Linked DNA regions of Homo sapiens: regions 1, 2, 4, 5 and 6 are each linked to region 3. The links are contacts of gene promoters, found by promoter capture Hi-C in human tissues and cell types (Jung and others, 2019). All regions are on one chromosome and are shown on one strand. The core of a region is centred on a gene start or on the middle of the fragment in contact, and the rest is flanking DNA. Distances in the headings are between cores, read along the strand shown. Region 1 holds the start of SRRM2 (serine/arginine repetitive matrix 2). Region 2 holds the start of NDUFB10 (NADH:ubiquinone oxidoreductase subunit B10). Region 3 holds the start of ABCA3 (ATP binding cassette subfamily A member 3). Region 4 holds the start of KCTD5 (potassium channel tetramerization domain containing 5). Region 5 holds the start of PRSS27 (serine protease 27). Region 6 has its middle 13 kb from the start of FLJ42627.

Region 1 (3,992 bases), core at 437-2,936, 410 kb after region 3:
AAGCCTTTGCCACTTTACTATGCCACTCCAGAGTTGCGGCCGGCTTACAGAAGCACCGTCCATAGATGCAGAGTTCAGACACTCCAATCTGCGATCAGAGCTCCTGCAGGAGATGGGGGTGGTGGGGGGGAGGGTCTCCCGGCTCTAGCATCTGAGATAAGTACATCCTCCCACGGGCAAGTGAAAAACAAATCTTAAAGCCGGATACGGGCCGGGCGTGGTGGCTCACGCCTGTAATATCAGCACTTTGGGAGGCTGAGGTGGGCAGATCACCTGAGGTCAGGAAATCGAGACCAGCCTGACCAATATAGTGAAGCCCCGTCTTTACTAAAAATACAAAAATTAGCCAGGCGTGGTGGCACACGCCTGTAATCCCAGCTACTCGGAAGACTGAGACACGAGAATCACTTCAACCTGAGAGACAGGTTGCAGTGAGCCGACAACACACCATTGCACTCCAGCCTGGGTGACAAGTGCGAAACCACGTGAAAAAAGAAAGAACAACAACAACAACAAAAAACAAGGGCCAGATAGGGTGTCATGCACGGGTAGTCCCAGCTACTTGGGAGGCTGAGGTCGGAGGATCGCTTGAGCCCCAAATTCGAGAACAGCCTGGGCAAAACCCTGCCTCTTAAAAACACCCCCAAATCGTAATAACAAATATAAATCCTTGCACTCAAATGGACAGTTCATTACGTGGTACCGCGTCCTGTTGCGGATCAAGGCCACCTGAGTTGGTTAGGACAGCTAAGCGGGACGTCCAGGGCTGCTCGCCAGCGGTGGGTCTAGATATGAACTTGTGCTTGAGCAGCCCAGCGTCTTACAACTCTGCTGTGAGGACGGCTGGCTGATTATCAGGCCCAGAATCACGGGCTTAGAAACATTAACAGGAAGTACGGTACCGAAAAGTGGAAACTTTAAGGTGCTTATTATTTTCCTCCTGCCTTGTTCCTGTATGTGCCGCTTCACCGGTATCACGTCCTGGGTCTGGTGGGACCCCGGCCTGGCTGCCCTACCGGAAGCTAAGAAAACTCCTCCCCCAGGGGTGGCCGTCGGGCCTCAGCCCGGTCTACAGCGGGAGAACGTGGCCCATGCTACGGGTAACTGGTTGGGCCCCTGGTGCAGGTCTAGGGCCTGCAGCCAGGCTCGGGGCCTCCGGGGGTGCCCGCTGGCTGGGGTCTGAGGCGGCTTCTCTCGGGTACGGGAAGGCGGACTGCTGTGCAGCTGCGGGCTCGCTCGGGAAACCCAAAGTCACACGAAAGCGGCAGCACCACCGCGGCTGGGATATCGTCTCCCAACATGGGGAGACAAAATGGCCGCCACGCCCCGAGCCGAAATTACATCCGGGCTCCGCGACACGCCCGAACCACAACTCCCAGAATGCTCTGCATCGACAGCGGGAGACGAGACGCGCTCGGGCGTCGCTTTGCTGCCGCTAGGCCCTGTGCTCCTCCCCGCAGCGGAAGGCCTACGAATACGCGGTGTCTTACGTCGCTTCCTCCGTTCTTCGTTGCACTGGCCAACGGGACGCTTAGTCTTTCGGCAACGGGGTGAAACCTTCCTTGTGCCTGAAAAAACGGTACTTCGCGGTGTGGCTTCGGCGCCTGCGCAAAAGGCCGCGGGGCGCACTCCAGTTCCCGGCAGGCCCCGCGACGCGCGTTTGCGTGCTGACGCACGCAGTTAGTCGTGCTGACGTGCAGCGCGGCCCAGGCGGGGTGCGAGTGGCGCAGTTGGAGCCCGTTGCGGCCCCTGAGGAAGCGAGGAGGCGTCGGCGTCGGCTGAGGCGGGCGGACCGGCGAGGCGAGGCGGCGGCCCCAGGCCCGAGGGACTCGGGAGCTCGAGCAGCGGCGGCGGCAAGACCTCTCCCCCTCGGAGGCGGCGGGCGGAGGCGGCGGGTGAGAGGGTGAGGGAGCCAGCGAGCCGGGTGGGGGAGGGGCGGCGGCCCCGGCGCGAGGCCAAAGCGCGCGGAGAACTGCCCAGGCCGCCGAGCTCCTCCGCGCGCACGCGCGCTCGACGCCCTTCGCTGGCGCGGACGCCCTCGCCTCCCTTCCCCCTTCCCGCCGTTCCTGTCGCGCGCGGGCTTCACCCCCCCCCGCCCCTCCCCCATGACAACGGCGTTCGCAGCCGCCTGTACTCGGGTTCGCGAGCGCCCTTGGTGAGGGGGGAGGGCGCGCGCCTCGGCTTCACTCCTCCCCCCAACATGTGCCGCCGAGGTGGCCTTCCTGCAGCTGCCGTTTTCGGCCCTTAAGTGGCGGGGAAGGGGCGGCGGCGGGGGGCTTGCTCCTGGACCCTTGCCCCCGGTTCCAGATCTCCTTTCCTCGGGCTTCTCTTCGGCGTTGGGCTGCCCGTGTCGGGGGCCTCCCAGACTGCGGGACGCCGCGCAGCCCCCTCCCCCATTCCGCAAGGCCGAAAATAGGCCCCCGGCGCTGCGGGGAGGGCCTTGAACTTCGTGGGCCGGATTTAAATGGTTTAGGATTCCCGGCTATCAGCCTTTGAGTTGTTAGTGGCGGGGAGAAACCCCAAATCTTAAAAACTGTGAAGAAAGTGAACGTGTTCAGTTTACATTTGTAAGGTAGACCGTGCGTTCCCTTTTTACACTTTTTCAACGTCTCCCGAGAATTCGTGTTCAAACTAAGGAGGCTTTTGGAGACCTTCGTTGGGAAGAAAACGCCAGACTCATATATAAGTTTTCTGGTTGGTTTCAGGCGTTCTTTGGCACACAGCTCTTCTGAAGCTTGGTTTCCACTCGGCTTCAGTTAGGACGAATCTGGATCAGAATTTCAGAGTGTTGTGTTGTCTTTCATCCTAAGTGCGTGGGCTTAGGGCTCTTCTAAAGCTACTATTTTAGCTTTCTGGGTTCTTTGTGTCCACTCAGCCGCTCTGGAGCGCCCCGGTGCTGAGCTGGCTGTGCTTGCTGATGTCCATTTTTTTCGACAACCCTTGTCTCCCCTTTTTCTCCCCTTTTGGTACCGTTTTCTTTTTTGCATATTTTACTGTTGAATTCAAATATATCTTTCTACTTCATTGTTAGCTTACCACTCGGATAATTTCCCAACAGAAAAGGGTGTTTTTGTCTTCCTTTGTACTTTTTACTTTCTGCTTTTAACTTGGGTAACTTTTGCATATCCACTGTCTATGGCCCCCACTTTAAGAGTTTTGTAATATCGTTTGGTTTGGTGATTTGTGTGTGGTGTTGATCTTCCTACTTTCTGTGTCTTAACACACCCCTTAGATGCCGTGGGGTCGTCGTCTTTTTTTGTGGGGTGGACTAGGTGGCTCATTCCCTAAAAGTTCTCCGAAACATTGTGACCTAATATCCTTTGCTTAGCACCTACTGGTTTTTCTTTTTTTTTTTTTTCCGAGACGGAGTCTAGCTCTGTTGGCAGGCCGGAGTGCAGTGGCGCGATCTCGGCTCACTGCAACCTTCCGCCTCCCGGGTTCAAGCGATTCTCCTGCTTCAGCCTCTGGAGTTGCTGAGATTACAGGCAATCGCCGCCGCCCAGCTAATTTTTGTATTTTTGGTAGAGATGGAGTTTCACCGTGTTGGCCAGGCTGGTGTCAATCTCCTGATCTGGTGATCCGCCCACCTCGGCCTCCCAAAGTGCAGGTGTTACAGGCGTGAGCCACCGTACCCGGCCTGGTTTTCCTTTCTTAAGGAGTGGGGGGATTTTTGTGTGAGGTGGTATGGAAGTGTGGGTGAATGGTTAAGCTGAAGAATTAAGTGCAGGTCAAAAACATGCTGCAGGGGAAGCAGAAATTAAGTGGGGTAGGGGAGAGGCGAAGAAGGACCTAGTTTTAAACCGTGAGGAGGATTGGTACTAGAAGATGAAAATGAGGATTGGGGTGTAGAGAAATTGATTTTTTGAGCCATACAGTTTTTCATTTTTTCCTGGATTTCTGCTTGCCTTATCCAGGTTTAGCCTCTTCTGTCACCTTCTGCTTTCAATATTGGGTCTGCTACTGGGCTTGGGTAGGGACCCATCCTTAGGCGC
Region 2 (2,548 bases), core at 49-2,548, 380 kb before region 3:
CTGGAGCAGGGGGCGGCGCTCGTCGGGGAGGTTCGGGCCGCACAGGAGCCCACGGAGTGGGGGAGGCTCAGGCATGGCGGGCTGTAGGTCCCGAGCCCTGCCCCGCGGGGAGGCAGCTAAGGCCTGGCGAGAGAAATCGAGCGCAGCGCCGGTGGGCCGGCCTGCTGGGGGACCCAGCACACCCTCCGCAGCCGCTGGCCCGGGTGCTAAGCCCCTCATTGCCCAGGGCCGGCAGGGCCGGCCAGGCTCTCCGAGTGCGGGGCCCGCCGAGCCCACACCCACCTGGAATTCGCGCTGGCCCGCAAAGCACCGCGCGCAGCCCCGGTTCCCGCCTGCGCCTCTCCCTCCACACCTCCCCGCAAGCTGAGGGAGCCCGCTCTGGCCTTGGCCAGCCCAGAAAGGGGCTCCTCAAGTGCCGCCAAAGTGGGAGCCCAGGCAGAGGAGGCGCCGAGAGCGAGCGAGGGCTCTGAGGACTGCCAGCACGCTGTCACCTCTCACTGTTTGTCTGTAGGGTTGATGGTTCTGTGTCGCTGGCCTCAACCTCAGGACAGGACATGACCAGTGTCCCCCCTGGATAGCAGCCAGGGGCCGTGCCAGGTGTGGAGACTGAAGATGTGGCCAGCAGGACCCTGCTCAGTGGAGCTGCCTAGAAGCACCAGAGTGCCCCAGGGCCAGGATGGAACCATCAAAGCCGGCCAGAGGGCCCTGTGCCCAGGGTAGGTGCCTTCTCCCTATGAGCCGCCTAAGGGCAAGCCCTGCCTCCTGGTCTGCTCCCTGCCCTCCCCCAGACAGGCTCCCAAGTTAACTGGCACCAGCCAGTCCATGAGGGGCCCTTGTAGAGAGCGGGGCCCAGAGAAGTCTGTAGGGACTAGGCAATCCAGGAAAGCTTCCTGGAGGAGTAGGGTGTTTGGAATCGCGTGCTATTTGTTCACTTTGTCGTGTGCGCTCTAACGGCCTGTGTTCTCCATCACAGTTTATCTTATTCCCTGCTGCACTCAGCACAGTGCCTGGCGCGCAGTGGGAACCGAATGACCCCCTCCTATTCCTTATGTCAGTTGCCTTTTGTCTGTTTCTTTCATCGTAAGCAGGAATCTGTCCGGTTCGCGGCTGCTTCCCAGGCGCCCAGACCAGCGACCAGCACCGCGTAGGCGCTCGGCACAGACCGAGAACGGAGGCCCCACGCGGGGGCGCCCTGCGGCGAGGCGGGTCCCGGCCGCGCCCGGCGGAGCCGGGGAACTACAAGTCCCATGGTGCATCGCGGCGCCAGCGCGCAGACGCAGCCGCCCTCGGCGTCCTCTGTAGCGGGCGACCTAGGCCGCGGGACCCGGACGGAGGTAGAGGCCAGGGCAGCGCGTCCGGGAGCGGAGTCCGCGCCCGCCGCCGCCATGCCGGACAGCTGGGACAAGGATGTGTACCCTGAGCCCCCGCGCCGCACGCCGGTGCAGCCCAATCCCATCGTCTACATGATGAAAGCGTTCGACCTCATCGTGGACCGACCCGTGACCCTCGTGAGAGGTACGAAGCCCCAGCCCGGGGCTCCCTCGCCGGCCTCTGGGGACCCCTGGATCCCACACCCTGCCTGGATCCTCCAATGCCTCCGGGGTCCCGTCTGCCTGAGACCGCCCCCCGCTGCACCCCGGGGACAACTCCCCACCCCCGGAGACCTCCGAGCTCCGTCGCCTCCTTTGGCCTCCCACTGCACCCCGGACCTCACCTCCCAGGATCCCTTACTCTCCCCTGCACCCCGGGATGCCCCGCTTCTTCCCAGGACTCTTCCCTCCCTGCCGCACCCAGCGCCCACTGCCCCAGGACCCCGCACTGCTCTCCGCCCCCCGCCGCCCCGGGCACCCCTCCACTGCACCGCTGGCCTCAGGCCTCTCTCAAATGTCTCTCTGCCGGATGACCAAGTGTCGGGGTGATGGCCGAGATGCCCAAATTCAGCATCTCTGGAACGAACCGGGAAAATGCCCAGTTCAGTTTTTGTTGTTTTTTTTTTTCCTGAGACAGTCTCACTCTGTTGCCCAGGCTGGAGTGCAGTGGCGCGATCTCGGCTCACTGCAACCTCTGCCCCACCCCGGGTTCAAGCGATTCTCCTGCCTCAGCCTCCCCAGTACTAGGATTACAGGCGCACCACCACCACGCCCAGCTAATTTTTATATTTTTAGTAGACACGGGGTTTCACCATGTTGGCCAGGCTGGTCTCGAACTCCTGACCTCAGGTGATCCTCCCACCTTGGCCCCCAGGTGCTGGGATTACAGGCCTGAGCCACCGTGTCCAGCCTGGTTCAGTTCTTTTTGAACACTTGGGGTGCATAGCATGCTCTGGTGGTTCTTCCGTAAGAGGGTGAAGTCTCCAAATCAAACCCCCAAAGATCTGGAAACCGTGCAACAGCGGACCCAGCTCCCTCTCTTTTGTAGCAGTTGTAGAGCATGTCTGTCCTATGTGTCTGGATGTTCGAGCTCTCCTTTTAGCTCGTTCATTTCCCAGTGAGGAAGCTGAGGCCGTAAGGTGGTAAGTTCTGCTTGCTGGAGGCTCCCTGTTGGAGCC
Region 3 (4,463 bases), core at 117-2,616:
TCCTGTTTTTCAGGTAGAGTTAGCAAAGGTTCAATTTAAAAGAAAAATTATCTAAGAAGTTAAAAATGAAAGTGTGGGGGAGATTCCCATGACATCCATTTTTATCTATTTTTCCCTTTCTCTTACATTTCTCATGAGGCAAACTTTCTAAAACAGTCTTAGTCTTTTCAAGTTTACAAAAGGCAGCGCCCAGACTATCTGAATAAAATGACGGGATGCCCAGGAGAAGAGTGAACCTCTCCCACGTGCTCCCTGCCTGGGCTCCATGCTGTCGCGGGGTCTCGGCTACTCACTCAGCGGGCATTTCTGGAGTTCCAGGAACACAAACCCCAACAAGATCCAATCGACGCCTTCCCGGAGTGCACAGTCCAGGACGTAACCCGGAGAACAAGCGGCAATTACCCCCTGAGGACATGGCTTCATCTGTGCGACAGACACCAAGCGCCTTCCCCACGCCCCTGACCATAAGGCCGTCCCGGCCCTTCTGAAGCGTGGAGCCGGCTTGGAACAGAGCCAAGACACACGGACGCGATGCACACAGGCGTCCTGACCGAGGGCGCCGAGAACGCGGCCTCCGGCGACTGCCACAAGCCCCTCCGCCTGGACTAGCGGCTCCCCTTTCCCGTTCCCACACAGTGGAGGGCGCAGCAAACGCCCGCCGCGGACCGTGGGCCTTGGATTCGGATTTGGAGGCTCCTCGGAACCAGAGGGTGGGAGCAGGCGGAATCCAACCCGGGCGGCTTTGCCACCGCGCGCCCGGCATCCCTGCGGCCGGAAAGCGGCGCCATCTCCGCAAGTGCGCGGCGGACGCCTGCATCCCTCGGGGCCGGGGCTGTCGGTCGCTACATATCCACCTTCTGGGCGCACACAGAGGGCCCGGGCCGTGCCGAGTCTCCGCAGGGTCGAGCTTCCCCGCGCGGCGCGGGCTCAGGCACTGCCCGCAGTGCGGGACACGCCCAAGGCTCGGATGGGAGCCGACGCTGAGGGAGCGGCACCTGCAGGGAGCGCCCGGAGCCGAGGCCGCGGCAGGAGGGGCGGGCGCGGGCGCGGCCGGAGGGGATGCGGGGTCGCGGGAGGGGCCCGCAGGCCAGGCCGGAGCTGGGGGGGGCCCGAGGCCCGAGCTGGCCGGCGAGGGTGGGAAGGGCGGACCCGGGTGGGGACCGCAAGCCCCGGGAACGAGCGCGCGAGCGGCGGGTCCCGGCGGCACTCACCGAGCCTGGGCGCCGGGGCGGCGGCGGCCGGCGCGCGGCCCTCTCGCGGGGTCCCCTCCCTCGGCCACCCGGGCTCCGCTCCAGCCTCGCAGTGGCGGCGGCACTGACAGCTGCGTGGCCGCCCTGGAGGGGAGGGTGCGCCTGCAACCCGCTACTGGCGGACGCAGCGGCCGCTCCGGCTCCTGCAGGGGGCGCCGCGGATGGCGCGTGCGCAGTCGGCCGCCCCTGCAGGTGCCCGGTCCACCCCCGGCCGCCTCGGCCGCTCCGGCCAGCCCAACCCCGCGCCTGCGCGGTGCCCCCTGCATGTCGCCCATGCCCGGCAGAGGGCGCTCTGACTTGCGCGTGCGCAGTCAGCCACCCTGCGAGTACGCGGTTCGCACCCGGCCGCGCGGCAGCCCGTGCTTGCGCACTGCTCTGTGCCCGCGCCTATGTCCAGCAGGGGGCGCGCAGCGGCGGTAGCCGAGCGAGGGCGCGGTGGCCTCTGACAGGAATGACTCTGCGCACGTGCGTTTCGCAGCAGTGGAAGTCTTCACACCCGGAAACTCGACTTTGGCCGTTTCTCCATTTCTCCTCACGCACTGTCTTTCCTTGGGCCCTCGTCACTCCTGGCACCGGGGGAAGGGCTTCCCCGCCTCTGGCCGGGCGCTGGGGCGCGACCGAAGGCGAGGCGGCGGCGAGGAACCTTCTGGAATTCGGCCGTCGGGGCAGGCGTCGAGTTTACAGGAGAAGGCGCGGTGTCCCGGGATGAGCGGAGTCGCCCTCACTTAAGGAGCGAGGGAGGCCTCGGGGGTCCCCAGCCGGGTAGGAGTCACCTCAGGCAGGAGGGCCCGGCCTTGTCGGGGTCACCTGGCGGGAGGGTCCCGGGGTGGGGCGGGGCCGCCTGTGAGGAGGGTCCAGAGAGGGTCGGGGTCACCTGAGGGGAGGGTGGGGGGGTTCGGGGATGGTTGGGGTCACCCGACGGGATGGTCCGGGGAGGGTCGGGTTCACCTGAGGGGAGGGTCGGGGAGGGTCCGGAGAGGGTCGGGGTCACCTGAGGAGGTGGTCCGGAGAGGGTCGGGGTCACCTCACGGAGCGAGCGGAACGGGGTCACCTGGAGGGAGTGTCCAGGGCGGGGGCCCTGCAGGGAGTCGCCTGCAGGGAGGGTCCCGGGCGTGTCACATTAGGCGGTCCCAGGGACGGGTCGCGGTCTAACGGGACGGGAGTGGGGAGGTGGGTCGGGGTGTCCCTGGGCCGGACCGGGTCGTGGGACTGGGTCGCCCCAGGCAGGAGAGCCTGGGAGGGGCGGGCCCCCTTGGCGTGGCAGGGAGAGGTGGAGTGAGGGACTCCCGGGCTCCAGCATGAGGGCGGGCGCCGCGCGGGGCCGACAGTTGCCGCGGGCCGGGGCCAATGGGTCCCCGAGCGCCGCCAGCGGCCGGACCACAGTGAGGTGCGTCCGTGGTCCCGGCGCCCCGGGTGAGGGAGGGCTGCTGCCGGTCCTGCCGCTGGGAGCCGCCTGCGACCCGCACCGCCAGCCCCGCGCCCAGCCAGCCGCCGGCACCACGACCCGACGGCCCCGACCTAATGCAACGCCCCGGGCCGGGGGCGGAAATCGCCCACCCCCAAGAGTCCTGATGGAGTAGGGTTTGAGCGGCTCGTTCCCCATTTTACTGTGTACATAGCACCTTTCACTCTGATGATGTTCTGGATAGCCCATTCCGCGAGCAAAGGGACTTCGTCAGGTTCATGCCTAGATCCAGGGTCCTAGAGTGCCTGGGGCGGAGGAGGCTCATGCTAAATAATTTGTTCAGTGGAATCACAGAGACCTGGCTTCAGATCTTGACCCACCAATTAATGTAGACATGTCATTTTATCTTTCTGAGTCTCAATTTCCTATCCCTAAAATTGAAATTATAATAATAGTAATTAATAATAATAGCAAACTCAAAGGTTTTTTGTTGGTGTATTCTTTTCTTTTTTGGGTCAAATGAGAAAATGCATGTTTAAGTGCTTACTACAATACCTGACACATAAATGCCAAATAAATGGTAGTATATAATGTGAGTATAGCTAGGGATTTACATAGCCTAGTCTCCGTAATGAGCATACAGGGGGAAAAAAAACCCCAAACAATTGAATGCAGTTACAGGATGGGTGGGGGAGTGGATTATTAATGCGCTGCAAACATCCTAAAAACCCCCTTTCCCCATCAGTCTTCACAGACTGCAACACCCCATCCAAAATGTCTTCCCCATTCTCTGCTTCGTCCCAGAAAATGATGTGAACTTGGCTGCTTGGCCCTGTCTTCACCCGGTCATATCCTCAGTCATTTTTCTTTCCAAAACCAATCCTTGCCATTTCCAAATTGAATTTGTTAGACCTTGCACGTTTTTCCGGCCTTTTCAAAACTGGATCCCAATTCTCTGTAACCAAATCCAGTACCAGAACTGGCTGACTCAGAATTTACCTTAGATGGAAGATAGGGTAGGAATTTTGGAAGAAGGATGACCTTACAGATCAAGACAGACAATTGCAGGGTACTAATTTTATATCTTTTTTCTTAACTCTGCCAGGTTAATTGTTAATTATTATAATCACAATCATGAGGTGGGAGGGTGTGAAGGCCACTGGGAAAAGTATCTTATGCCCAAAAATTTCAGGCTCTGAACTGTTAAAAAACAGTTGCCCACAGTGAGCTGGACCCTTTTGATGCCCTTCAACAATCCCTGGATAATTCATCACATTGTGCTCAAGGCCCACTACTGAAAAAATAAAGCAAACCTAGATGCTCCACCTAGTCATTTCTTTCCAGATGGAGGCCCAGATAAGGTCATAATTTCTTCAGAGTCACCCAGTAGAGCTGAGATGACAACCTCCGTGTTCAGGCTCCTGGACTCTACCCCTCTCTTATATGGAAACACTCACATCCATATACCATGAATACATGCTGAGAAATTGAAGGATACACTCCTTGAAGTTACTATGGTTCAAACATTTCTTTTCTCTCAAGATTGATGGTAAACATTATAGTGGATGGTGACACTCATAAACAAATCTTACAGCTTCACAAAAGGCAGTAAACCTAGCCATTATACTAGTCGGCTAGATATAATTAAACCAATAAGCTCCCAATTCTTTGAAGGGGTACAAATACTATACCCTATCTATCTATCTATCTATCTATCTATCTATCTATCTATCTATCTATCTATCTGTCTATCTATTGTATCGTACAACAGTACCCAAATTGCTGATATTCAATACAGTATCTTAGAA
Region 4 (4,273 bases), core at 775-3,274, 340 kb after region 3:
GAGACTTCAGAGATCGCAGCTGCTGTGAGAATACGGTGAAGGTACTATGTTCTGGAAGATGTTGTCATACACTTTTCCCCAGTTATTTTCAAACTTGACATGAGCCTATGTTGACTCACTGGGTGGGGTCCCTTCTTACGCAGCACACGTGGCAAGTGCCTGAATCGGGGCTGGAGGCACTTCAGAGCCTCTGAGGGGCCACCACTTCTGGCCCAAAATTGCAGGGTTGTAGATGAGGCTGCCTGTGGAGAACTGGTGTGAGGAGGAAGCTGTTTCCAACAAAGAGCACTTTCATCTGTTGAGATGGCTGTGGTGAGCAACTGAACGAGCCTACGTGTGTACCTGAATTTTCCCCATAACTCATTTCTTCCATATGAAGAAACACCAAACTATGTACAGAGAACTTTTTACAAAAGGCAGACCTTTTTTAAGCTGTGTAACCCACATAGCCTAACCGTCTGGCAGAATGACTACGAATAGGGGTCATTGTGCTGGTAAAAGCCTCTATTACGACTGTTAAGTTGGATGTTGGCAAAATTAAATTGTTACAGTATTTAGAGCTGCTGTAGCTGTTCCTTCACAACATGAAATAGGATAAATGACTAGTACGTCTTTCAGGTGGGTGGCAGTCAGAACATGCGTAATATTCTCTACCTGGTCTGTAGCTGTAACTGTGATGTACAGACAAAGCAAAAATTAAAAGAACTCATGAAAACAAATAATACAATGGTATTAGGATATACACTTTTGTGTTTTTAATCTTATAGAAGGTTATTTGCTGGCTATTGTTGGCCTCTAGTTCAGCCTGTTATTTAAATTCTTTTTTTTTCTTGAGACGGAGTCTCACTCTGTCGCCCAGGCTAGAGTGCAGTGGCCTGATCTCGGCTAACTGCAACCTCCGCCTCCTGGGTTTAAGCAATTCTCTGCCTCAGCCTCCGAGTAGCTGGGATTACGAGCGCCCACAACCACATCTGGCTAATTTTTTGTATTTTTGGTAGAGACGGAGATTCACCATCTTGGCCAGGCTGATGTTGAACTCCTGACCTCGTGATCCACCCACCTTGGCCTCCCAAAGTGTTGGGATTACAGACATGAGCCACCGCGCCCGGCCTAAATTCTAATATATGAATTATTTGTATTGAATTCATGTTCGGGGCCACGTTGTTATATGTATTGATATACAGCCTTGAATGTGAATAATTACTATATATTTTACAACTTTTTTCTGGCTTTATTACAAAAACTTTCTTTTTTTTTTTTTGAGACAGACTCTCGCCCTATCACCAGGCTGGAGTGCAGTGGCGAGATCTCAGCTCACTGCAACCTCTGCCTCCCGGGTTCACGCCATTCTCCTGCCGCAGCCTCCCGAGTAGCTTGGATTACCGGCGCCCACCACCGCGCCAGGCTAATTTTTGTATTTTCAGTGGAGACCGGGCCTCACCATGTTGGCCAGCGTGGTCTCGATCTCCTGACCGCCTGATCCTCCCGCCTCGGCCTCCCAAAGTGCTGGGATTACAGGCGTGAGCCACCAGGCCCCGCCCTTATTATATAAATTTTCTATTGGGTCAATGATTTAATCATATAATTTAATGAATCTGTTCTTTTTTTCCCCCCAAATATTTGTGCTTTAGGTGTAGTTACCAGATGATGAATTTTCCTCCTATGCTCCGTAGTCTTGTAATAAAAAGCATGTACAGTGTAGACGTTTGCTGGCATGGCTCTTCCTTTGACCAGTTCATGAACTGGAGTCAGGGTGGGGGTGAAGGCTAGGGTCGAGGTCTGGGTCAGGCGCTCGTGCACCGCTCGTGGGAGGTCGAGGCTGATGTCCGCTGCTCCCCATCAGCGTTAGTGCCCAGATCACCCCGTGCTCCGCTCCCGCCGGAAGCGGGCCCAGCCTCCTGCTTTTCGGGACCGGAACTTCCGCCTACCGCGTGACGCCGGGGCGGGCGCTCTACCAGGGCGGACCTGTGGGCGGGACAGAACTCAGAGGACGCTATTAAAAGCCGGACGCTTCCGGTGGAAGGGAGCTGTTGCGGGGCTTGCTGGGATCATGGCGGAGAATCACTGCGAGCTCCTGTCGCCGGCCCGGGGCGGCATCGGGGCGGGGCTGGGGGGCGGCCTGTGCCGCCGCTGCAGCGCTGGGCTCGGCGCCCTGGCCCAGCGCCCTGGCAGCGTGTCCAAGTGGGTCCGACTCAACGTCGGCGGCACCTACTTCCTCACCACTCGGCAGACCCTGTGCCGGGACCCGAAATCCTTCCTGTACCGCTTATGCCAGGCCGATCCCGACCTGGACTCAGACAAGGTGAGGGCCTCACGGGCCAGCCCGGAGGGTCCTGGCCTTCCCGGCCTGCGGCTCCTGCACACGCCCTGCTTCGTGCGGAGGAGACTTCAGCGGGAGCGGGCGACTCTCCTCGGGCTTCGAGCCCCGCGCTCCCTTGTCGCCAGCTCCTCCCCAGCTTGCCCCGATCCCCTACCCTGGGAGGGGAGGGTGAGGATGGCGCCCTGGCGTCCACTGCCTTTGAGGATCCTGAGTCGATTCACCTTGGGGGTGTCTCTTCCTCGCCCTCTTTGCTCTTTGGTGGAGGAGGCTTCCTAGACCCCGGACTTTGCTGTGATTCTACTTTCTTTTTCTCACTAGGTTCTTTTGCCCAGGGTGTGTGAACGCCTTCTCTTCTCTGTCCCAGGGTACTTGCTGGCTCTGGAAACAGAACCCTTGGCGTTGTTTCACATTCTGGACGTTTGAATTAACGCTGACGTGGGGGTTGATATGGGCGGCCCTTTTTTTCCCTGGTGACTTGCATTTAGAGAGTTGGCGCTCCATCCTTTCCATCCACAGCACGCAGCACCCACTCAGCACCTCTTAGAAGATGCGTCCGTAGTATATAGTATGATTTTTCGAAGGGGATTTTGCTCATATTAAGGGTTGCTTTAGGGATGTCCAGGAAGGGTCAGGTAAGGAATCTTTCAATCTGCTTTCTAATTGGCTTAGTTTTCCCACTGTCTTCGCAAAAGGACAGGAATTTCCAGGTTAGTTTGCAGCTTGTCTTTCATCAAGCGAAATGCTCATGCTGTTGGGTAGATGGTAATAGAAACCTTTTGCTACCTTTATTTATCAAGAGTTGTGGAGCCGAGGAACCGTGTCTTGGGAGTTGTGCAGGATTGAAACTCACAAAAAAGCCTGTTTGAAGAAGTTGTTACCTATATTTATTCAAGGCAGTTCACAAGCCTTATACTAACTTTGCGGGGTCTTTCAGTTGAGCTTACATGACTGCGCTTGGCTTTGTGCCTTGGCAGCCAACATTTGCCATGCAGGAGGCTTCCCAGAAAGGTTCGGATCCCTCTTCAAGTTTGAGAAGCCTGACTGAGACCATTCTCAGCATGGCATGACCGTGATCAGGAAGTGAGAATCTGGAGTTACTGCTAAGGCAGCCTTGTGGGTGGAAATGAGGGTTTGAGATGCCAACCCTCCTGTGCCTCCCCACAACTTCCAACTGTTTCCATTGCTCATTTGACCAAGCCCTCTACTCAGAGAATTGACCTCCCAGGAAATGACAGTCATCCCCAGGATAGAAATAGGCGTTTGTTAGCTGTGATTTTCCTTTTATAAGTGTGGGTGTATGTTTTACTGTTTGGTTTTTCTTTTTAAATAACAGGGCTTAGTGGTCACTCCCTTGCCTTTCTACTCAAGCATTCCTGTTTTGTATATGAAATTAGAGTTTAAATTGCTCTTGTCCATTGGGTTCTTTGAGGCAATGGTTGTCTATTCAGCACTGGAGCACTTGATTCCCAGTTGATGAACTTTAGCACAGTTAAGGTGGTTGATCCCTTTGCTTTACTGTTCCTTAAGACTTTGTTAAAAATTATGGGCCAGGCGCGGTGGCTCATGCCTGTAATCCCAACACTTTGGGAGGCCCAGGCAGGTGGATCTCGTTCAAAACCAACCGGGCCAATATGGTGATGCCCGGTCTCTACTAAAAATACAAAAAGGTGGGCGCGGTGGCTCACGTCTGTAATCCCAGCACTTTGGGAGGCCGAGGCAGGCGGATCACGAGGTCAGGAGATCGAGACCATCCTGGCTAACATGATGAAACTCTGTCTCTACTAAAAATACAAAAAATGAGCCAGGCGCGGTGGCGAGCACCTGTAGTCCCAGCTACTAGGCAGTCTGAGGCAGGAGAATGGCGTGAGCCTGGGAGGAGGAGCTTGCAGTGAGCCTAGTTAGCGCCACTGCAGTCCAGCCTGGGTGAAAGAGCAAGACTCCATCACAAAAAAA
Region 5 (3,926 bases), core at 1,068-3,567, 380 kb after region 3:
AAGGGGTGCCCTGCAGAAGCGGGGTCAGGGGCAACGGGAAATGGAGAGTCTGCCCTGGATGCTCTGCTCATTAATTTGTGCTAATTAAGTGCCCTTTAAAATGCAAACACTACCGGGAGGGTTATTCCCTGGCCCCCCGACCCCTTGCTCCTTCCAAGCCTGAGGATCCTGCTTGCAGAAGGGCGCGCACTGTCAGGCCTTCTCGCTCTCTGGGAGTCTGCAGGAGCTGTGTCTCCATGCTCCCTGCCTGAGCACTGCCCCTTCAGCGATGCCTCCTCCCCATGCAGATCCTTCCTTCCTAAAGTAGCCCTGTACTTCTCATTTAGGCAGAGTCTTCTGGTCTCTGAGTGCTTGCTCCCCTCACCCCACAATCTGGATGCCCTTCCCCCAGTCTCCATAAGTCCTAGTCTTTTTTTTTTTTTTTTTTTTAAGATGGAGTCTCACTCTGTTGCCCAGCCTGGAGTGCAGTGGCGCGATCTCAGCTCACTGCAAGCTCCGCCTCCTGGGTTCACGCCATTCTCCTGCCTCAGCCTCCCGAGTAGCTGGGACTACAGGGGCCCGCCACCAAGCCCGGCTAATTTTTTTGTATTTTTAGTAGAGAGGGGTTTCACCATGTTTGCCAGGATAGTCTCGATCTCCTGGCCCCGTGATCCGCCCACCTCGGCCTCCCAAAGTGCTGGCATTACAGGCGTGAGCCACCGCTCCCAGCCAAGTCCTAATCGTGATCTAGAGATCAAGGCCCAACTGAATGCTGCCTCCTCCAGGAAGCCTTCCTTGCTTGCTTGCATTGTCTACCTTGGAAGCCCTATACTCTCTCTTGAGCTCTCTGTCCTGATGGGAGCTCTGTCTACATCACCCTGGAGCCAGAATCAAGTCTTATCTTAGCCCAGGAGCTCCGAGAAGGCAAGGGCTGCATCTGGGGGGCCTGATCTCAGGGAATGTGTGGATGGACACAAGTGTGGCTGTGGGGGCTGATGGGAAATGGGGGATGTGGACAGCTGAGCCCTTCAGGGTGGGCGCCCTGTGGGGGCTGGAAGCAACAGCCAGGGGTGCCGGGGGTGTCAGGAGCATTGTTTGGGGCCTGGGCCTGTGATTCGCTGGTAGCTGGTGGGGATGGTGAAGCTTAGTGGGTACCACCAGCCAGAGACCTGGTGGGAGTGCCACCCTCGGGCTGGGAGTGAGGACGTGTCCAGGAGTCCAGCCTCTGGTCACAGCTGTTAGTGAACCGACTGCAAAACTCATTGCCAAAGAGTTTTGGCAATGACCTTGGTTCCTCACCCCGCTCAGGGGCAGTCACAGCCTTCCACCTCCTGTGCACATGGCTTGCTCAGAGGGCACCATCCTTGTGCTGGGAGACTGGGGGCATGGGGTGGGGGAGGCCGGGCCACTGAGGGGCCACTGGTGCCCTCCCACCCAGGAGAACAAGGAAGCCTGGAGTACTGGCTAAGCTGCAGCCTGGGATGACCTGACCCAGCCCTGGGAGGTGACTTGAGGACAGGGAAGTGTGGTGGCTGCCAGACTGGCTAGGCTAGCCCAGGAATGTGAGAGGTTTTCCCTGACAGAGAGTGTCCCGGCCCGCAGGGAGGGGCCTGGCAGGTGGGGCCCCCTGGCTGGCACCTGCTGTCCCTGACCCAGGACTGGGAGAGGGCACGGTGGCGCATCACCGGTTCCTCTGTCAGCAGGAGACAGGGCCCTCTGCCACCTACACCCCCTGCCCCCAGCTCTCTACTGAGCCTGCAGCCAGCCTGCTGGGGCTTCCGGGCACAGGCAGCAGCCCTCGGCTCGGCCACCCTCCCACCCCGAGTATGATGGTCCAGGCACTTGGAGCCTGAGTTCACATCCTGCACGTAGGAGGCCCCTGTCCTCACCTAGAGAATGGGGGGAGAGGCCGAGGTGGCAGGAAGCAGGGAGCCTGGCCAGAGCTGGCACACCAGTGCCCGCGGAGAGGCATGGGAGGAGGTGCTGCCCAGTTATGCCGGTGGGGTCCTCTGGGGCCTGTGCGCACACCTCCCACCCTGCCTCCCCACTTTGGACTCCCCACTTGGCACATCTGGAGCCTTCCCACCTGCTCAGGGGCAGGAGGGATGATGGCCTGTCCCACAGCCCCAGCCTGTCCCAGGGAGTAGGGGGCTGAGCCGGAGCCCCAGGCAGTGCAGCGGAGCCTGGTGGGGGACTGCACCACCAGGACCCTGCACCTTCACGACTCACCAAAACACAGCAGCAGCAGGAGCGGCACCGCCGCCGGCCGCCTCATGTCCTCAGGCCTGGCTGGGGCGCAGGGCCGTGGTCGGCGGTGGCAGAAGCGTTGGAGCACGAGCGAGGTGCAGGCTCCATGAAGTGGAGTTTTATGCTGGAGATGAGCACAGGCCCGGCTATGCGGCCCAACCCGTCGGCCCGGCCTGCCCAGCTCCTCTCCTCAGGAAGGAAGCGCCCAGAGCCGACTCCTCCGTGACCTAGCCCTGAACCCCGAGACCCCAGGGCAGACCCCTCACCCCAGCGCAGCACGGGGTGCCGTTGGCCTCGGTTCCTGGACCCTGAGCTGACCCAGACCCCCCAGCAGACCCCGAGCTGACCGCGGTGCACGCGAAGTCCGTCCAGCTTCATTCATTATTATTATTATTATTTTTTTTAATTTTTTGAGACAGAGTCTCGCTCTGTCGCCCAGGCTGGAGCGCAATCTCGGCTCACTGCAAGCTCCGTCTCCCAGGTTCAAGCCATTCTCCTGCCTCAGCCTCCTGAGTAGCTGGGATTACAGGCAGGTGCCACCACGCCCGGCTAATTTTTTGTATTTTTAGTAGAGACGGGGTTTAACCGTGTTGGCCAGGCTAGTCTCGATCTCCTGACCTCGTGATCCGCCCTCCTCGGCCTCCCAAAGCGCTGGGATTACAGGGGTGAGCCACCGCGCCCGGCCTCATTCAGTATTTTATTGAGCGCCGATGGAACACAGTGGGGCTGGGCCGCGCTGGTGGGAAAGTCAAGGCCAGGGGTGTTTGCGGGGCCGAGGGCAGGGGAGGCGATGGGACATGGGGCGGGGTCCGGAGTTGGCCGCAGCGACCCTCCTCCCGGGACAGCAGGCCCCAGAAGTTCCTCAGGCGCGCGCCAGCGCGGCCCAGGCGGCCGACCCGGGCCCCGGCTGCCATCCCTTGGAAGGGGCGGGGGCTTCCTGGCACCAGGCGGGGCGGAAGCGGCTCCGGGAAGGCCGGGCCGGGGTTACCGTTTCGGTGTCCCCGCCTGGCTCTGGGCGCGGCGCCGCGGCGGAAGAGGCTCGGGGAGGAAGTTATTTGGGGCACGGCGCTGACGTCAGAGACAGAGTGGGGCCGGGCCGTGGGGTCGGGGGCGCCGGACCTGTTTCCCCGCCGGCGCCGGGGGTCGGTACTCGCGGGCGGGGCGGGGCCGGGCGGCTCCGGGCGGGGCTGGGGGTGCGGCCGTTCCCGCCTCAGCCTTGTCCGCGCGCGTCGTGGTGCTGCCCTCTGGTGGGCGCGGGGCGCGGCGCGGGCGGCCAGGGGTGCAGAAGGGGCGCTCCCAGCCTCATGGTCCGGGCTCCGGCTCCCCGCATCGCCCTCCCTAGCCCCGCCCTCCCGCGTCTCCGCCTCCGCCTCCACCGCCTCCTCCCACCCTTCCCTCCCCGTCCAGTCCCTGGAGTTCCCGGGTCGGGGGTGGGAGGCGGGCTGGGCAGCCCCTGGGGGTCTGGAGGGAAGGAGGGAGGGCGAGGAGTGGGAAGAGGGGACTCCAAACGTATTCATTCATGTATTGATTTATTCATTCAGTCAGTCAGTCATTTCTGAGCAGATTTGAGCCCAATACTGTCCCCGGTTTGGGGAATACAAAGGTGACCCAAACAGACCTCACCTCAGTGTGAGAGAGAGAACATCATTTAGCAGAGAAATCTCTAATTATAAACCGCGACGGGCTGGGTGCAGTGGCTC
Region 6 (4,246 bases), core at 1-2,500, 310 kb after region 3:
AGTCATTAGCTACTAACCTGTCTCAGCCTTTTGCACTTGAACTAGTCCTGGGCCTCAAATAGACATAGCTGTTCCAAGTGCCACGTCAGAACGCCCGCTCTGCCACTCACTCGCAGTCAATCCCTTGGCACATTACCTCAGCTTTCTGTGGCTCAGATTCCTCATCTGAAAGTCAGGGAGCCACAGGGCCGACCTCCCAGATTTGCCATGAGGATTTATTGAGTTCACCTACAAGATTCACCTGAGCAGGCCTTGAAGCCAGCTGGAAGCACTTTCACAATGAAGTAACACAGAAGACACAAAGTTTTCTCAACCAACGGTCACTGGATCATAGAATAAGCCTTTCAAAGCTAAATGAACCGTGTCCCCTTTTCCAAATGCCTTAAATATCTACTGGATTAGAAGGCCCAACTCTAACTTTGAGGACAAAACTATATAGAAAGGCTGAGCTCCCTCACACACGGGAGATAAATCAAGAAAGAAATCAGGCAGGGCACAATGGCTAACACCTGTAATCCCAGCACTTTAGCAAGACAAGGTGGGAGGATTGCTTGAGGCCAGCCTGGCCAACATGGTGCAACCTCGTCTCCAATAAAAATACAAAAAAGTTAGCTGGGTGTCGTGGTGGCCACTTGTAATCTCAGCTACTCGGGAGGCTGAGGCAGGAGAATCGCCTGAACTCAGGAGGCGGAGGTTGTAGTGGGCAGAGATTGGGCCACTGCACTCCAGCCTGGGCGACAAAAGTGAAACTCTGTCTCAAAAAAAAAAAAAAAAGGCCGGGTGCTGTGGCTCATGCCTGAAATCCCAGGACTTTGGGAGGCTGAGGCAGGTGGATCACAAGGTCAGGAGATCAAGACCATCCTGGCTAACACGGTGAAACCCCGTCTCTACTAAAAATACAAAAAATTAGCTGGACGTGGTGGCGGGTGCCTGTAGTCCCAGCTACTCGGGAGGCTGAGGTAGGAGAATGGTGTGAACCTGGGAGGTGGAGCTTGCAGTGAGTCGAGATTGCGCCACTGCACTCCAGCCTGGGCGACACAGCAAGACTCCGTCTCAAAAAAAAAAAAAAGATGGAAATCAGGGCGCCTCCTATGGTCAAGATGCTGTCACGCAGATGAACACTTCAACCAGCAAGAGAAAGGATCCCGAACAGAAAGCTAAGCTACCTTTAAATGGCAGTGTGTGCTCTGGAGCCTGGGAATGCAGTGCGACAGGTAGAGCCAGCGCCCGCACACTCTCACACGCGGCAAGCAGGAACTGCTCTCTCCAGGCCCCCGGACCAAAGTTGTGGGAGGCTGCCACAATCCACCTAGCTCATCTCCAAAGGGATCCTGCCCTCAGGTCAGCTGTGCTCACTGGCAAAGAGCATTCTGGTAAAAACCTCCTCTCACCTCAGAAAACTCCACAAAGCTAGGCCCAGCACAGAAAACCAGGTGGAGGAAGGGGGTGTTAGGGAGGGACAGCCGCCACCTTCCCCTACCCCTCAGGCTGCCACCACCAAGGACAACTGTGGTGGACTAGCAAAACCAATGCCCCAGTTGAGTTCCAGATTTACAGCTTACCTGTGGGTAAGCCACCGCTCTCCGACCCATCAAGACTCTTCTCTAAAATGAGGCTAATGACATGGGCCCACCCACAAGGGCTGCGGGACCCACACCAGACAGGAGTGTGAAGCACTCCGTGGAATCTGGTGGGCAGCTCACAGGGCAGGCCCTATGGCGGAGGGGATTCTCGGTGTGCTCGTACCAGCAACCCGTGCCCGAAGGCCCTGCCCACGCTGGTCCTTGGCCACGGGGAGCTGGCCCACAGCAGGCAAGTGGTCACCAACGCTCTCCCACGGTGCAACTCAGCAAAACGCAGCTCGCCCCCACCAGCGTGGAGCCCTGGCAACAGGTGAGGGCCGGAGGAAAGCTGTTTCTATTTCTCCACGAAGGGAGGGAGGAGCAGCTCCAAGGACAGCTACTCAATCTGTCCTCCCACAGCCATCTCCACTGGCCTCCCAAGGAGCCTCTCACTTACCCAGGGCAGACAGAGGGCAACGAGGCGCGGACTGCCAACTGCCTCAAGTCTGGTCCTCAGGCTCAACCGGGCTGCCAGCCTCAGGAAGCGCCAGGTCTCAATTTCACTAACCCACATCTTCAACATTAACGTTGTATATTTGTCACACAAACAGATGATGAAACACCAAAGTACAAGATTTCTCTGCAAGGAGGCTTTGTTCCCTTCCTGCACTTTGGAACTTCCTACAGGTGTACTTTAAACACCACTGATCAACATGAAAACCAGGATGCCAGTTACCTCTGAACGGGAGGGGCCAGAAACTACAATCTGGAGGGCCACTCGAGCCTTCTGGTAAAATCCTGTTTTTCAAGTAGGGTGGTGGGCACGTGTGAGTTTATTTTCATTCTTTAAACTCTCCATATATCTTCTGTGTGCCCCTTATAGGTATAACTTTAAATGCTGTTGTTTAAAATAAATAAAATGCCATTTTTCTCTACTAAAAAAAAAATTTATTAAGTGCTTGCTGTTTGCCACACATTCTTCTGAGCATTTTACATGTATTATCGTGGTTAGTCCTCAAAACAACTCTGGGGGTGGGTACCATCGGCATCCTTTCTACAGATGGGGACACTGAGTATACAGCAGGCTTTTGTCCAGTCAAACACTCCACAGTGAGGTCACACGCAATTCTGAAGCAGAATCCAACTACAAGGCCCACACTCCCAGCCCTCCCATGAGTAGGGGGTCGCCCATCTGAGGCTGATGTGTGTTCACCAGGGAACCAGGAGGGGCCGGAGGAAAACTGCAGCACCTAATCCTCAGTGCCTCGCCACAGCGCAGGCCACACCCTCTGACCTGCCCATTCCCCTACATGGCATCTAGGCGACACAGTCAGAAATTCAGACTAAGATTTATATTATTAAAATATTCATTAAGAAGTTACTCCTAGGCCAGTTGCGGTGGCTCACGCCTGTGATCCCAGCACTTTGGGAGGATCACCTGAGGTCAGGAATTGGAGACCAGCCTGACCAACATGGAGAAACCCTGTCTCTACTAAAAACGCAAAATAAGCCAGGTGTGGGGGCGCATGCCTGTAGTCTCAGCTACTTGGGAGGCTGAGGCAGGAGTACCACTTGAACCTGGGAGGCAGAGGTTGCAGTGAGCTGAGATCGCGCCACTGCACTCCAGCCTTGGAAACAGAGCGAGACTCCGTCTCAAAAAAAAAAAAAGAAAAGAAAAAGAAAAAGAAAAAAAAAGACAGGAGCAGCAGGCAGAAGGGGAGCAGACTCATCTCAAACCTGCCTCACATCCCCTGGAGGGATGCGGCCCCACCCGACTGGAAACCAGCCCTGTCAGTCTGCCTTGCTGGGGATGGCTCTGTCCCTGCAGAGTGTCCCAGGAGCATGCATGCCTGCAGAAAGCAGGTGCCTGGACTCCATGCCAGCTCTGACCCAAAAGTCAGAAGGCCTCCAGGTCCCAAGTGTCTTCATCTAGAAACTGGAAGGATCCAACTGGGTGAGCAAGAAGGTCCCTTCTGAAATTAAATTACCACCAGTGTCCTACAATCTATGACACAAAACCCCCAAGTAGCAGAGAGCAGAGCAGGCCTATGTGCTTCCTTTTGGTAAAGTAAAACTAATTTTGCCAGACACAGTGGCACGTACCTGTAGCCCCAGCTACTCAGGAGGCTGAGGTGGGGGGGTCGCTTGAGCCCAGGAGTTGGAGACTGCAGTGAGCTATGATCCCACCACTGCACTCCAGCCTGGATGACAGAGCGAGAGCTCATCTCTAAAGCAAACAATAATAATTTTTTAAAAGTTTTGTAAGTAATTTTGTTGAACGTCACCAGCGATGAGTCACGTGGATGTCCTGTACCCCAATACGACGCACTAAGGGCACCTCATCTCTGTGGGATTCTTCCTAACCCCACAACCTGTCCAACCACAAGACATCAAACAAACCCAAATGAAGGCACATTCTGCAAAATACCTGACCAGGACTCCTCAAAAGTACCAAGCTGATGACAAACAAGGAAGGACGGCAGCTATCCTACACCAGAGGGGGCGAATGAGACAGGACAACGCGATGCGATGTGGCACCGGGGCGGGGTCCTGGGACAGCAAGGACATCAGGAGGAAAACTGATAAAATCCAAAACAGGCCTGTCGCTCGGTGAGTAGTGTGGTGCCAGCGCGAACACCTCAGTTTCGACAGAGTGACAGAGGTATCACGGTCATGTCATGGCA

Evidence for each region. The method cuts DNA at HindIII sites, captures the fragments that hold promoters and counts their contacts. A contact is called where the count stands out against the background at its distance.
Region 1: a contact is called between the fragment with the promoter of SRRM2 here and the fragment with the promoter of ABCA3 in region 3, in 3 of the 25 tissues and cell types used here (adrenal gland, aorta and dorsolateral prefrontal cortex).
Region 2: the fragment with the promoter of NDUFB10 here is called in contact with the fragment with the promoter of ABCA3 in region 3 in 2 of the 25 tissues and cell types used here (lymphoblastoid cells and mesenchymal stem cells).
Region 4: a contact is called between the fragment with the promoter of KCTD5 here and the fragment with the promoter of ABCA3 in region 3, in 2 of the 25 tissues and cell types used here (dorsolateral prefrontal cortex and thymus).
Region 5: the fragment with the promoter of PRSS27 here is called in contact with the fragment with the promoter of ABCA3 in region 3 in 3 of the 25 tissues and cell types used here (H1 embryonic stem cells, dorsolateral prefrontal cortex and lymphoblastoid cells).
Region 6: a contact is called between a fragment that was not itself captured here and the fragment with the promoter of ABCA3 in region 3, in 1 of the 25 tissues and cell types used here (IMR-90 fibroblasts).

The regions. Positions count from the first base shown.
Region 1 is chr16:2,750,952-2,754,943 of GRCh38, forward strand. It overlaps SRRM2 (serine/arginine repetitive matrix 2), which reads left to right and starts at 1,687. Exons shown (of 15, transcript NM_016333.4): 1 at 1,687-1,895. SRRM2-AS1 (SRRM2 antisense RNA 1) reads right to left here and starts at 1,649. Exons shown (of 6, transcript NR_027275.1): 1 at 1,491-1,649. RefSeq lists enhancers at 567-1,409, 1,009-1,178, 1,239-1,528, 1,410-2,252, 2,253-3,095 and silencers at 1,709-2,018, 2,039-2,098. The HindIII fragment of the contact is 13,386 bases long and covers 1-3,992 here.
Region 2 is chr16:1,958,240-1,960,787 of GRCh38, forward strand. NDUFB10 (NADH:ubiquinone oxidoreductase subunit B10) reads left to right here and starts at 1,299. Exons shown (of 4, transcript NM_004548.3): 1 at 1,299-1,515. The coding sequence starts at 1,386. RefSeq lists an enhancer at 1-356 and silencers at 1,079-1,388, 1,819-1,928. The HindIII fragment of the contact is 2,906 bases long and covers 266-2,548 here.
Region 3 is chr16:2,339,362-2,343,824 of GRCh38, forward strand. ABCA3 (ATP binding cassette subfamily A member 3) reads right to left here and starts at 1,367. Exons shown (of 33, transcript NM_001089.3): 1 at 1,212-1,367. It also overlaps the pseudogene ABCA17P. RefSeq lists silencers at 988-1,047, 1,218-1,677. The HindIII fragment of the contact is 11,234 bases long and covers 1-4,463 here.
Region 4 is chr16:2,680,499-2,684,771 of GRCh38, forward strand. KCTD5 (potassium channel tetramerization domain containing 5) reads left to right here and starts at 2,025. Exons shown (of 6, transcript NM_018992.4): 1 at 2,025-2,302. The coding sequence starts at 2,051. RefSeq lists a silencer at 2,108-2,287 and enhancers at 2,383-2,993, 2,538-2,587, 2,658-2,707. The HindIII fragment of the contact is 14,940 bases long and covers 1-4,273 here.
Region 5 is chr16:2,717,907-2,721,832 of GRCh38, forward strand. It overlaps PRSS27 (serine protease 27), which reads right to left and starts at 2,318. Exons shown (of 6, transcript NM_031948.5): 1 at 2,209-2,318. The coding sequence starts at 2,254. RefSeq lists an enhancer at 2,588-3,155 and silencers at 2,889-3,648, 3,779-3,848. The HindIII fragment of the contact is 19,281 bases long and covers 1-3,926 here.
Region 6 is chr16:2,649,422-2,653,667 of GRCh38, forward strand. No RefSeq gene overlaps it. Among named protein-coding and RNA genes, the nearest start is that of FLJ42627, 13 kb to the left of the region's middle. RefSeq lists an enhancer at 4,236-4,246. The HindIII fragment of the contact is 4,729 bases long and covers 1-3,615 here.